Linked DNA regions of Homo sapiens: region 1 is linked to region 2. Evidence: promoter capture Hi-C in 16 types of primary human blood cells and fetal thymus (Javierre and others, 2016). All regions are on one chromosome and are shown on one strand. Each heading gives the region's core, a stretch centred on a gene start or on the middle of the fragment in contact. The rest is flanking DNA. Distances are from core to core; before and after follow the strand shown. Region 1 overlaps KIAA1958. Region 2 holds the start of TXN (thioredoxin).

Region 1 (4,532 bases), core at 955-3,454, 2.2 Mb before region 2:
AGGACAGTCCTATGGACAACAGATAAGTAGGCAGGGCTAAAATGCCCAAAAAACAGAACCTACACAGAATAAGCAACTGGTCAGATGAAGGGAGAAAAAAGAGAGTTCTGGTGATTCTAAGAGCTGGGAAAGAAGAAATTACCATCAAAAAGAGAGGATCTTTTTTAAGTGAAATTGTATCTAAGAACAACCAGTAAAGTTTCTGAGCTTCTGGGGGAGAACGCGAGACCACAAGAACCTAAGAGGCTTTAGGAAGAACACCGTGGACTAGAATCCAAATCAAACAAAGAGGCAGGAGTGGGAATAAAGGAAAGAGATACCCAGAGGAGGTTAATCTCAGAGAACATCAGAGAGGAGGTCACATCAAGAAGCCACATTTTTTCCTTTATGTTGAAACATACACTCGGAAAAAGGCAGCAATAAGTGAACTTGCTGATATTTCACAATTTCACAAACAGAACCCACTTATGTAACCAGCAACCAGTTCAAGAAACAGAAACTTTCCAGCAGCCCAGAAGCCTCTACTTTCTCTATTCTCATCAATACTCTCCCAAGGGTAGCCCCTATTCTGGCTTCTAACAGAACAGAATGATTCTGCCTGTTTGAGGACTTTCTATACATGCAGGCATACAGTATAAACTCTGCTCTGTCTGGCTTCTTTAGCTCAACATATGTCTGTGAGATTCATACATACTACTGCATGCAGCTGTAGACTGTTTATCATTCTCATCGATCTACAGTATTCCATTGTGTAAATATACCATGATGTATTTATTCAATCTGAGTCAGTTTAATATTGCTGTATAACAAATCACCTAAAAATTTAGTGGCTTAAAACAACAATTTCTTATTTCTCACAATTCTATGTTTTCTGGGTAGTTCCTCCTCTGGCTTTACCTGGACTTGTTCACATGGCTACTTTTAGCTGGAAGGAAGGTCAGCTAAACTATAAGGTCAAAGATGGCCTCACTCAAGTTTGTCAGTAAGTACTGGTCATTGGCTGGGCACCACGATTCTCTTCCAAGTAACCTCTCCTACTCCAGGACGTCCTTATATAGTGGTCTCAGGGCATTATTCCCCAGAGTATGTAAGCGCTTATCAAGCTTCTGTTGCATAATGCTTGCTAATGTCCAACTAGCCAGAGCAAGTTACAAAGCCAAAGTCAGACTCACTGCGGAAGGGAACAACAATGACTGATGGCCATTTCAACAGATTTCAGTTTGGAGCAATGACAAATGTGCTATGAGCATTCTAGTCCATATATTTGGGTGAGTATGGATCTTACAGTAGAACTAATGAGTCACAGGATTTGCAGCATATGTCCAGTTTTAGTAGATATGGCCATACAGCTTTCCAAATTGCTGTACCACTTTACATTTCCATTCCAATTTACACTTTGAATAGCAGTGCAGGAGAATTTCAGCTATCCTACATCCTCATACTTGGTATTTTTCATCTTTCTCATTTAGCCATTCTAGTGAGTGTACAATGGTACCTCATTTTTATTTTAATTGAGTGGCCATATTTTTAAAATACTTCAGATAAGCAACAAAGGAGGAAATCTTCAAACTATAAAACCAGGAAAACTGTATTTATCAATTTCCATCTCCATCACAGAAACCTTCTCCAAAAGTACAGGTAAGTCCATCTAATTTAAATATGACCAAGAGAGAACAATTAAAAAGCACAGTAAGAAAAAAAGATGAGAACTGTAACATATTTCAAAAGGAATAAGAGGAATTAAGAAAATAGCCAGGCACAGTGCCTCATGCCTGTAATCTCAGCACTTTGGGAGACCAAGGCAGGAGGATCACAAGCCCAAGAATTCAAGACCAGCCTGGGCAACAAAGTGAAACCTGTCTTTAAAAAAAAAAAATTCAGCTGGTAGTGGTGGCACACATCCACAGTCCTAGCTACTTGGGAAGCTGAGGTGGGTGAATCCCTTGAGCCTTGAATGACAGAGAAAGGCCCTGTCTCAAAAAGAAAAAAAAATGAAAAAAGGGGAAAAAATTTTTAAATGATAGAAGCTATGGAAGAACAGCATACATCAGAAATTGAAAAACTAAAAAATGAATCTTGCCAGATAACAAGAGGATGTACAATAAGAAATGACAAAGTTCATGACAGAACAGGAAAGAAAAAACTCAGAAAGGAAGTGAAAACTAAAAAGAACACTAAACTTAATAGATAGGTACCACCAGATACGGTGGCTCACACCTGTAATCCCAGCACTTTGGGAGGCTGAGGCAGGTGGATCATTTGAGCCCATGAGTTTGAGACCAGCCTGGGTGACATGGTGAAACCCTGTCTCTACAAAAAACACAAAAATTAGTAGGGCATGGTGATGCACATCTGTAGTCCCAGCTACTTGGGGCTAAACTGGGAGGATCACCTGAGGCCAGAGACGTTGACACTGCTGTAAACCATGATGGTGCCACTGCATTCCAGCCTGGGTGACAGAGACTGTCAAAAAAAAAAAGCGATAGATACCATGAAAAATACATTGAACACACTAAAGCATAAAATAGAAAAAAACATAAAAATAGAGCAAATATAAAAAATAAGAAAAAATAATACTAAGGTATAGACATAAGAAGATCCAACATACATATAATAGGAGGCCCCAAAGAGAGAAAATGAAAACAATGGAACACATTACTAAAAAACTATAATTGATGAAAATATGAAAAAACACTTGAGCCAATGTAATAAAAAACACTGTGTATCTAGGAGAATTAACAGGGAATGGTCAACAGACATTCTAGTAAAATTATTGGCTTTAAATATGAAGAAAAAGCCCTTGGGTATCTAGGCAAAAAGATAAAATTAAAGAAAGAAAATCATATTGGTATTACAGTTTGACAACAACACATTTTACCAGAATAGAATATGACTCAGCAAACTAAGGCCTATGGACCAAATCCAGCCCACTGCCTGGTTCTGTAAATTAAGTTTTATTGGAACAGTCAGGCTAGTTCATTTACACACTATCTATAGCTGCTTTTGCAATGCAATGGCACAGTTAAGTAATTGTGAGGGAAACCAGTGATCCATAAAACCTAAGATAATTATTATTCAGTCTTTTACAGAAAAAGTTTGCCAACTCCTGCAAGAGAGTAACATTTTTAAAGATAGTTGAGGGGAAAAAAAATGTGAGTCAAGTATTTTTATTCAGTCAAAGTGACCTTGAACTATAAAAGCCACAGATAAACAGTGTTAAATATGAAAAGCAAGGGATACATTTCACATGAGCCACTACAAGAATTCAATGAACTTCAGACTACTAGATGATTACAGAAGCTTTACCGTAAGGACTTCTGTTGCACACTGAATATATTTAAATGAAAAACTAAGACTAATGCAAAGGTAACACAGTAGCATATGATTCACATATGGCAAACAGACAGAATTGAGAAATCTTGGGCAGCAAGAACTGACTGACCCAGGGGCTTGATTATGTATGGAAAATGGGATTAAGAATAAAGAAGGAATCAGAGATAACTCCTAAATTTCTGGACTGGGAAAATGGATGGAAGGTGGTACCAACTCACTGAGCTAAGGAATAAAAGAAAAGACACAGATGTGAAGAGGACAATAAGTCTGGGGCATGTTGAATGTGAAATGCTTGTGGAAAATTAAGTGAATATATCCAGTCGTAGTAGGACACAAAGATGTGGATTTCAGGAGAAAAGCCCCGACTAGATATTAGATTCAGGAATCATCAGACATGCGTGAAAAGAACAAATAGTGCATAACTTACCATGAGAGCAGCAAGACCAATAGCTGAAAAAAAAAAAGCACTAAAAGAAACAAGTCCTCAGAACTCAGAAGAAAATAACAGCATTAGCACTTCCACTGAATTTGGCCACAATAATATTCTCCAGTATTCCAAAACAACTATTAAGAATTTTGGCCAGGCACAGTGGCTCAGGCCTGTAATCCCAGCACTTTGGGAGGCCCAGATAGGAGGATATCATGAGCCCAGGAGTTCAAGACCAATCTGGGACACACAGGCCTCATCTCTACAAAAAAAAAAAAAAAAAAAAGTGAGCTGGGCTCTGGGTGTGCACCTGTGATCCCAGCTACTCAGAAGGCTGAGGTGAGAGGACTGCTTGAGCTCAGGAGGTCGAGGCTGCAGTGAGCTGTGATCACGTTAGTGCGCTCCATCCTGGGCAACAGAAAAAGATCCTGTCTCAAACAAACAAAAAAAGGATTTTGTACTTTAAGTCATTAAAAATAAAGCATTTAAAAACAATGAATATGAAGAGTGAAAAACAAAAAGCCTTTAGCTACTTTATTTTTAATGACTATATATAGAGTTGATCATATTGCTATGTATTGGGGCCTGGGATTCAAGTGAAAAATTGCCAACAAAATCCCACATGTGGAGTGAGGTATGTATGTACATATGTAGGTAGGTAGGTATACATGCATGAAAGGCAGTAGGTAGAGGGATGGACTGTGTTATAGGCTGAACTGTATTCCTCTCAAATTCATCTGTTCACATCCTAAACCCTGGTACCTCAGAATGT
Region 2 (4,393 bases), core at 1,555-4,054:
GTCCCATGTGGAGGCTGGACTCAGCTGACCCAGGCCTGAAGCAGGCCCATCACCCTTGTTACATGTTTCCGCCCTTCTGGGTGACATAAAAATATCATTTTTGCTGGTCCGGCAGCAATCTCCCCTTTTCTGGTAACCCCCTGGATTTTCCCTACTCTTAGTGCAAAGCTTCAAGCAAGGCTAATCCCTTTCCCCACCATGAAAGTGAAGGTCAGCCTCTCAGACATTTATAAGAACAAGGAAGAGGAACACTCTTCCTGTAGAGATACTAAACTAGTAAGAACCTAAGTCTGGAGCTGCCTACTCCACTCTTACATAGAGTGCCTACTTGAGAATGAAACTAAGAGAGATGGTGCCCTTTGACATCATTAGGCCCCTGGGGTTCTTGCTAATCTGAGTTACTAATTCTCTTTTTGCTTTACGTCAGTTTGAGCTAGAATTTCTCCTTGCAACTGAAAATTCTGACTAACACACAGAGCCTCTACATTTCTCTGCACAAATGAACGCTTCCTCTCTGGGCAGTCCCAAATAATTCCCCTGTACCTCACTCTCCTCAAAGAACGTCACCTCCTTGCCACAAATGCAGGGAACCTGCTCCTTGGGACCAGGTGCAGCCCACTTTTCTTTCTTCCTTGCAGGGAAAAAAAAGGCCTTTTCCTTTGAGGCTTATGTTACGGAGCTCACTGTTCATTACTACTGTCTTCATTACTTAATTCATTTAAGACTGACACCTGTTTTATAATCTCTCCTTCCACCCTAGCTCTGCCATCATTCCAGATGGATCTCATCATTCATTTAATAGCCTATAATCATAGTTCATGTAGCATTCACTACACACCAGGCACGGTTCTAAGCATTTTACATATATTTTAGTTCACTCAACCCTTATAATAGCACAAGCTATTATTACGCCCACTTCTCACATAAGGAAACTGAGGCACAAAAAGGCTATTTAGACTTGCCTAGAGTTACCCAGTCATGAAGTGGTAGAGTAGGGATGAGGACAACGGAGTCAAATTGCAGAGTCCAGACTGGCCTCCCAGTTCCTTATAACTGTACCATCCTCCACATCTACTCTGCATTGGTGCTGTGGAGGTGGGAGAGAGGGAGTACCTCCTTCACTGAGTCACTGGACATTTGGAAGGTCTTTGGAGAGAAGTCAGCTGAGGATGGCCTGCATTGCCCCTTCCTGGAACTCAATGATTTGTTGTTATCACCCATGCAAATTCACCAACAAACAGATAAAAGTCAGGAAGCTGGGATGCAGCTGAACTGAAAACCCAGCAGCAGAAAAGCAGGTTATAGATTCTGCTCTGGGTGCTCCATACAGCTCCTTCCTCTCTGCCCCAATAACCTCCCTCTCTTTGGGAACATTGCTGCATTCAGGGCAGTCTGTCTTCCCTCCCTATGGGCTGTCTTTAGAATGTGTCCCTTGCCTATATCCATATTCATGCTCCGTGCTCCTCAGCCCCCTAGAAACTTTGCACAATAGATTCAAAACCTCTGGTTTCCTCCCTTCCTCTGTCTGAAAGAGTGAAAGAAGGAAGCCAGGGATTTCAGGGGGCAGCCAGGCAGCAGTATCACCACCCCTAGGCAATCACACCTAGTTGCAGCTTCATCGGGAACAGCTCAGCTCTGAAAACACAGACCTGGGACTCTCCCTCCCAGCCTTCTAGCTCTCGTTCCTGTGAGCAGCTTTTCAACCTCCACTTCCAGCCGCTGACAGGCCCTCCTGGCTCCACAAGGCCAGCTAACATACCCACCTTCCACAATCCCCAGCCCTGCCAGACATAACCTGCAACAGGCATTCCTGGATCAATGCAAACTCCGACTTCTGTTCCAGGAGTCTGCCTCTGTTAGAAGAATCTCACACAAGTGTGCGTGCTGTGCCATTGTAAATGCTGTATAAGGTGGCCAGGCCCAATCAGTCCCTGCAAGACACCGAACAGTAAGAACTATCTATGGAGTGTTTACTATGTGCCAAGCACCGTCCTTTGCAAGCACTATTAACCCTCAAAATACCACCACCGTGAGATTGAGACCATCATGATTCCCGTTCTACAGAAGGAAACACTGAGACTTCAGGAGGTCAGGACCTTTCCAGGGTCACAACTGCGTAACTAAGTTGCAGAGCTCAACCCAGTGGCACTTCCATCTCACACGCAGCTGTCTGATGGTCAAGAGCCCAACCAGTCCCCCGGTCGTTTCTACCGCACTAAACCGCTGTGTCAAGCTGGAGCAGCGGGCTCAGCAGTGAAAATGAAAGAACAGAAGGAGGTTACAGAGAAGAGAACGGTCACGGTAAATTCCGGAGAGGAGGCAAGGACGTACACACCGAGATACTTCCCGGTCACCGTTACTCAGCACTTTGTGGGGTTCACGTGGCTGGGGGGGCCGGGGCGTGGCGGCCCTTTTCGAGGAATCCAGCCCTGCCTGGGCGGTCCCCATCTCGAGCGTGGGCGTGTTCGATTCAGGCCCGGCGGACGCATCCCCAGGTGACCCGGGAGGGACCTTGTGTCTCTGGGGGTGACTGTCCGTCTCCCCGCCTCCCACCGTCACGCGCAGTGCTGATCCCCACTTCCAGCTGGAGTGCGAGCTGGGCTTGGGGTTACAGGAGCCGAAGCCCTGGAGCTCCGCCCCACGCTTGCGCCAGCCCCGCCCCGATCCCGGCTCGCAGGCTCCAGGGGCGGGGCGTGGCCGGGGCGCAGCGACGGGCGCGGAGGTCCGGCCGGGCGCGCGCGCCCCCGCCACACGCACGCCGGGCGTGCCAGTTTATAAAGGGAGAGAGCAAGCAGCGAGTCTTGAAGCTCTGTTTGGTGCTTTGGATCCATTTCCATCGGTCCTTACAGCCGCTCGTCAGACTCCAGCAGCCAAGATGGTGAAGCAGATCGAGAGCAAGGTACGCGCTACCGGGGAAGGCCAGGGTGCCGGCGCCGCGCGCGGCCTCTGTAACTGGGGAAGGCGGTGGCGGGAGGTGGGGAAGGCGGTGGCGGGAGGTGCGGAGGCCGCCCCTCCGCATCGCCAGGGGAAAGGGACGCGGCGTCTCGGCCTGGGACTGCGGGAAGCAGCGGCCTGGGCGCGCCCGAGGCGGTGGAGCCTGCCCTGGAGGAAGGGAGGAGAAGGACGAGGGTCCCCTGGAGGGCGGAGTGGCGGTGCCCAGCGTTTCTCGCACCCTGTTCCTCGGGGGATTGCACGCACGCGGGGAGCGTCCGGGGGATGTGAGAGCGCAGACAGCGTGAGGAGTCCCCACGCTGCGCCTCCTGCACCCTCCCGTCCGGGCAGCCCCGACTGGAGGAAGATGAGGGAATGGAAGGGGTCCGCCCTTGGCCCCCCATCTGTATCCAGATTCAGGCCCCAGGCAAGGATAGGGAGGGCCCTTGCAGAAGGCACGGGTCGGTGGCCGCCGCTGCCTTTCCGTATGTGAAGTGATCCACCCGCAGCGGGGGTAGTGATCTCCCTTTGGGAGCGGGTCTAGGCCGGAGACCCCCGCCTGCCTCCACCCATGCCCGACCCCAAAGGTGACGCGTGCTGTATCCGCACTAAGGGGGCGGATTGCGGCTGGAGACCCCCTGGCACGTGCAGGTCTGTCCAGGAGGCCCGAGGGCCCCAGGTGACCGCGAGGAAGTGAGGTCCGGGCCGCGCCCACGGGACTCCTGTGGCGCAGGGCGCGTTTCCGGCAGCAGTGGCTTTGGAATGACTGAGTCCCCAAGGTTGGGCCCGGGGGCCTCGGCTGCCCTGCCCGTCCATGATTCACCCTCAGTCGGTGGGTTTTGCTGGAGCCAGGGTTCCTCCTGGGAGCAGCCGCGCCCTGCTGCCTGCTCGCCGACCTATCGGTATCCCGATCGTTGTTTTGTCCTCTTAAAAATGCCCAAGGCGAAACAGCCTTCCCATGTTTGAAAGTTATTGCAAGCCTAAAACCTTGTAGACTGGGAAACCCAGAGCCTAACGCGCAGTGTCTAGTCCAATGTAGCCACTCCAGAAATATTTGTTAAATGCAGCGTCAGAAAAGTGAGTGGAGGAAATTGATACTGCTCGAACGGTAGAAGACCCCTCGCCAGCGCCTACCCTGCGATTACCCCTCCCTACCTGCGGGAAGCAGAGGAGGGCGGGTCCTCGCCCGCCTCGGGTGCCCTGACCTGTTTGGTGCCGGGTGGGCTTCGGAAACAGAAGTGTGTCTGCAATGTGTCCCCGATCCTTTTGTTCCTTTGATTATTATTGACTCTCAGTGTTTTTTCCTCATATGTTGATTGCCACTGTCATCTTTTATCTTCCTCTCAATCAGTTTTTTCTTAGTGGGATTCTCATTTTAGCAGCCCTCATGTGTTGAAAAGATCCTTAGTAGTGAATTGTCTTTCATATACTTTTTTTCCAAGCACCTATTGTGTGACAAATT

Evidence for each region. The method cuts DNA at HindIII sites, captures the fragments that hold promoters and counts their contacts. A CHiCAGO score of 5 or more calls a contact.
Region 1: a contact is called between a fragment that was not itself captured here and the fragment with the promoter of TXN in region 2, in 1 of 17 cell types (neutrophils). The highest score is 5.3, in neutrophils.

What each region holds. Positions count from the first base shown.
Region 1 is chr9:112,492,431-112,496,962 of GRCh38, reverse strand. All of the region lies in intron 1 of KIAA1958, which reads right to left. Among named protein-coding and RNA genes, the nearest start is that of HSDL2-AS1, 7.1 kb to the right of the region's middle. The HindIII fragment of the contact is 2,197 bases long and covers 1,106-3,302 here.
Region 2 is chr9:110,254,918-110,259,310 of GRCh38, reverse strand. It overlaps TXN (thioredoxin), which reads left to right and starts at 2,804. Exons shown (of 5, transcript NM_003329.4): 1 at 2,804-2,899. The coding sequence starts at 2,876. RefSeq lists enhancers at 2,123-2,172, 2,213-2,412, 1,341-2,540, 3,283-3,612 and silencers at 2,553-2,792, 2,963-3,212. The HindIII fragment of the contact is 7,662 bases long and covers 171-4,393 here.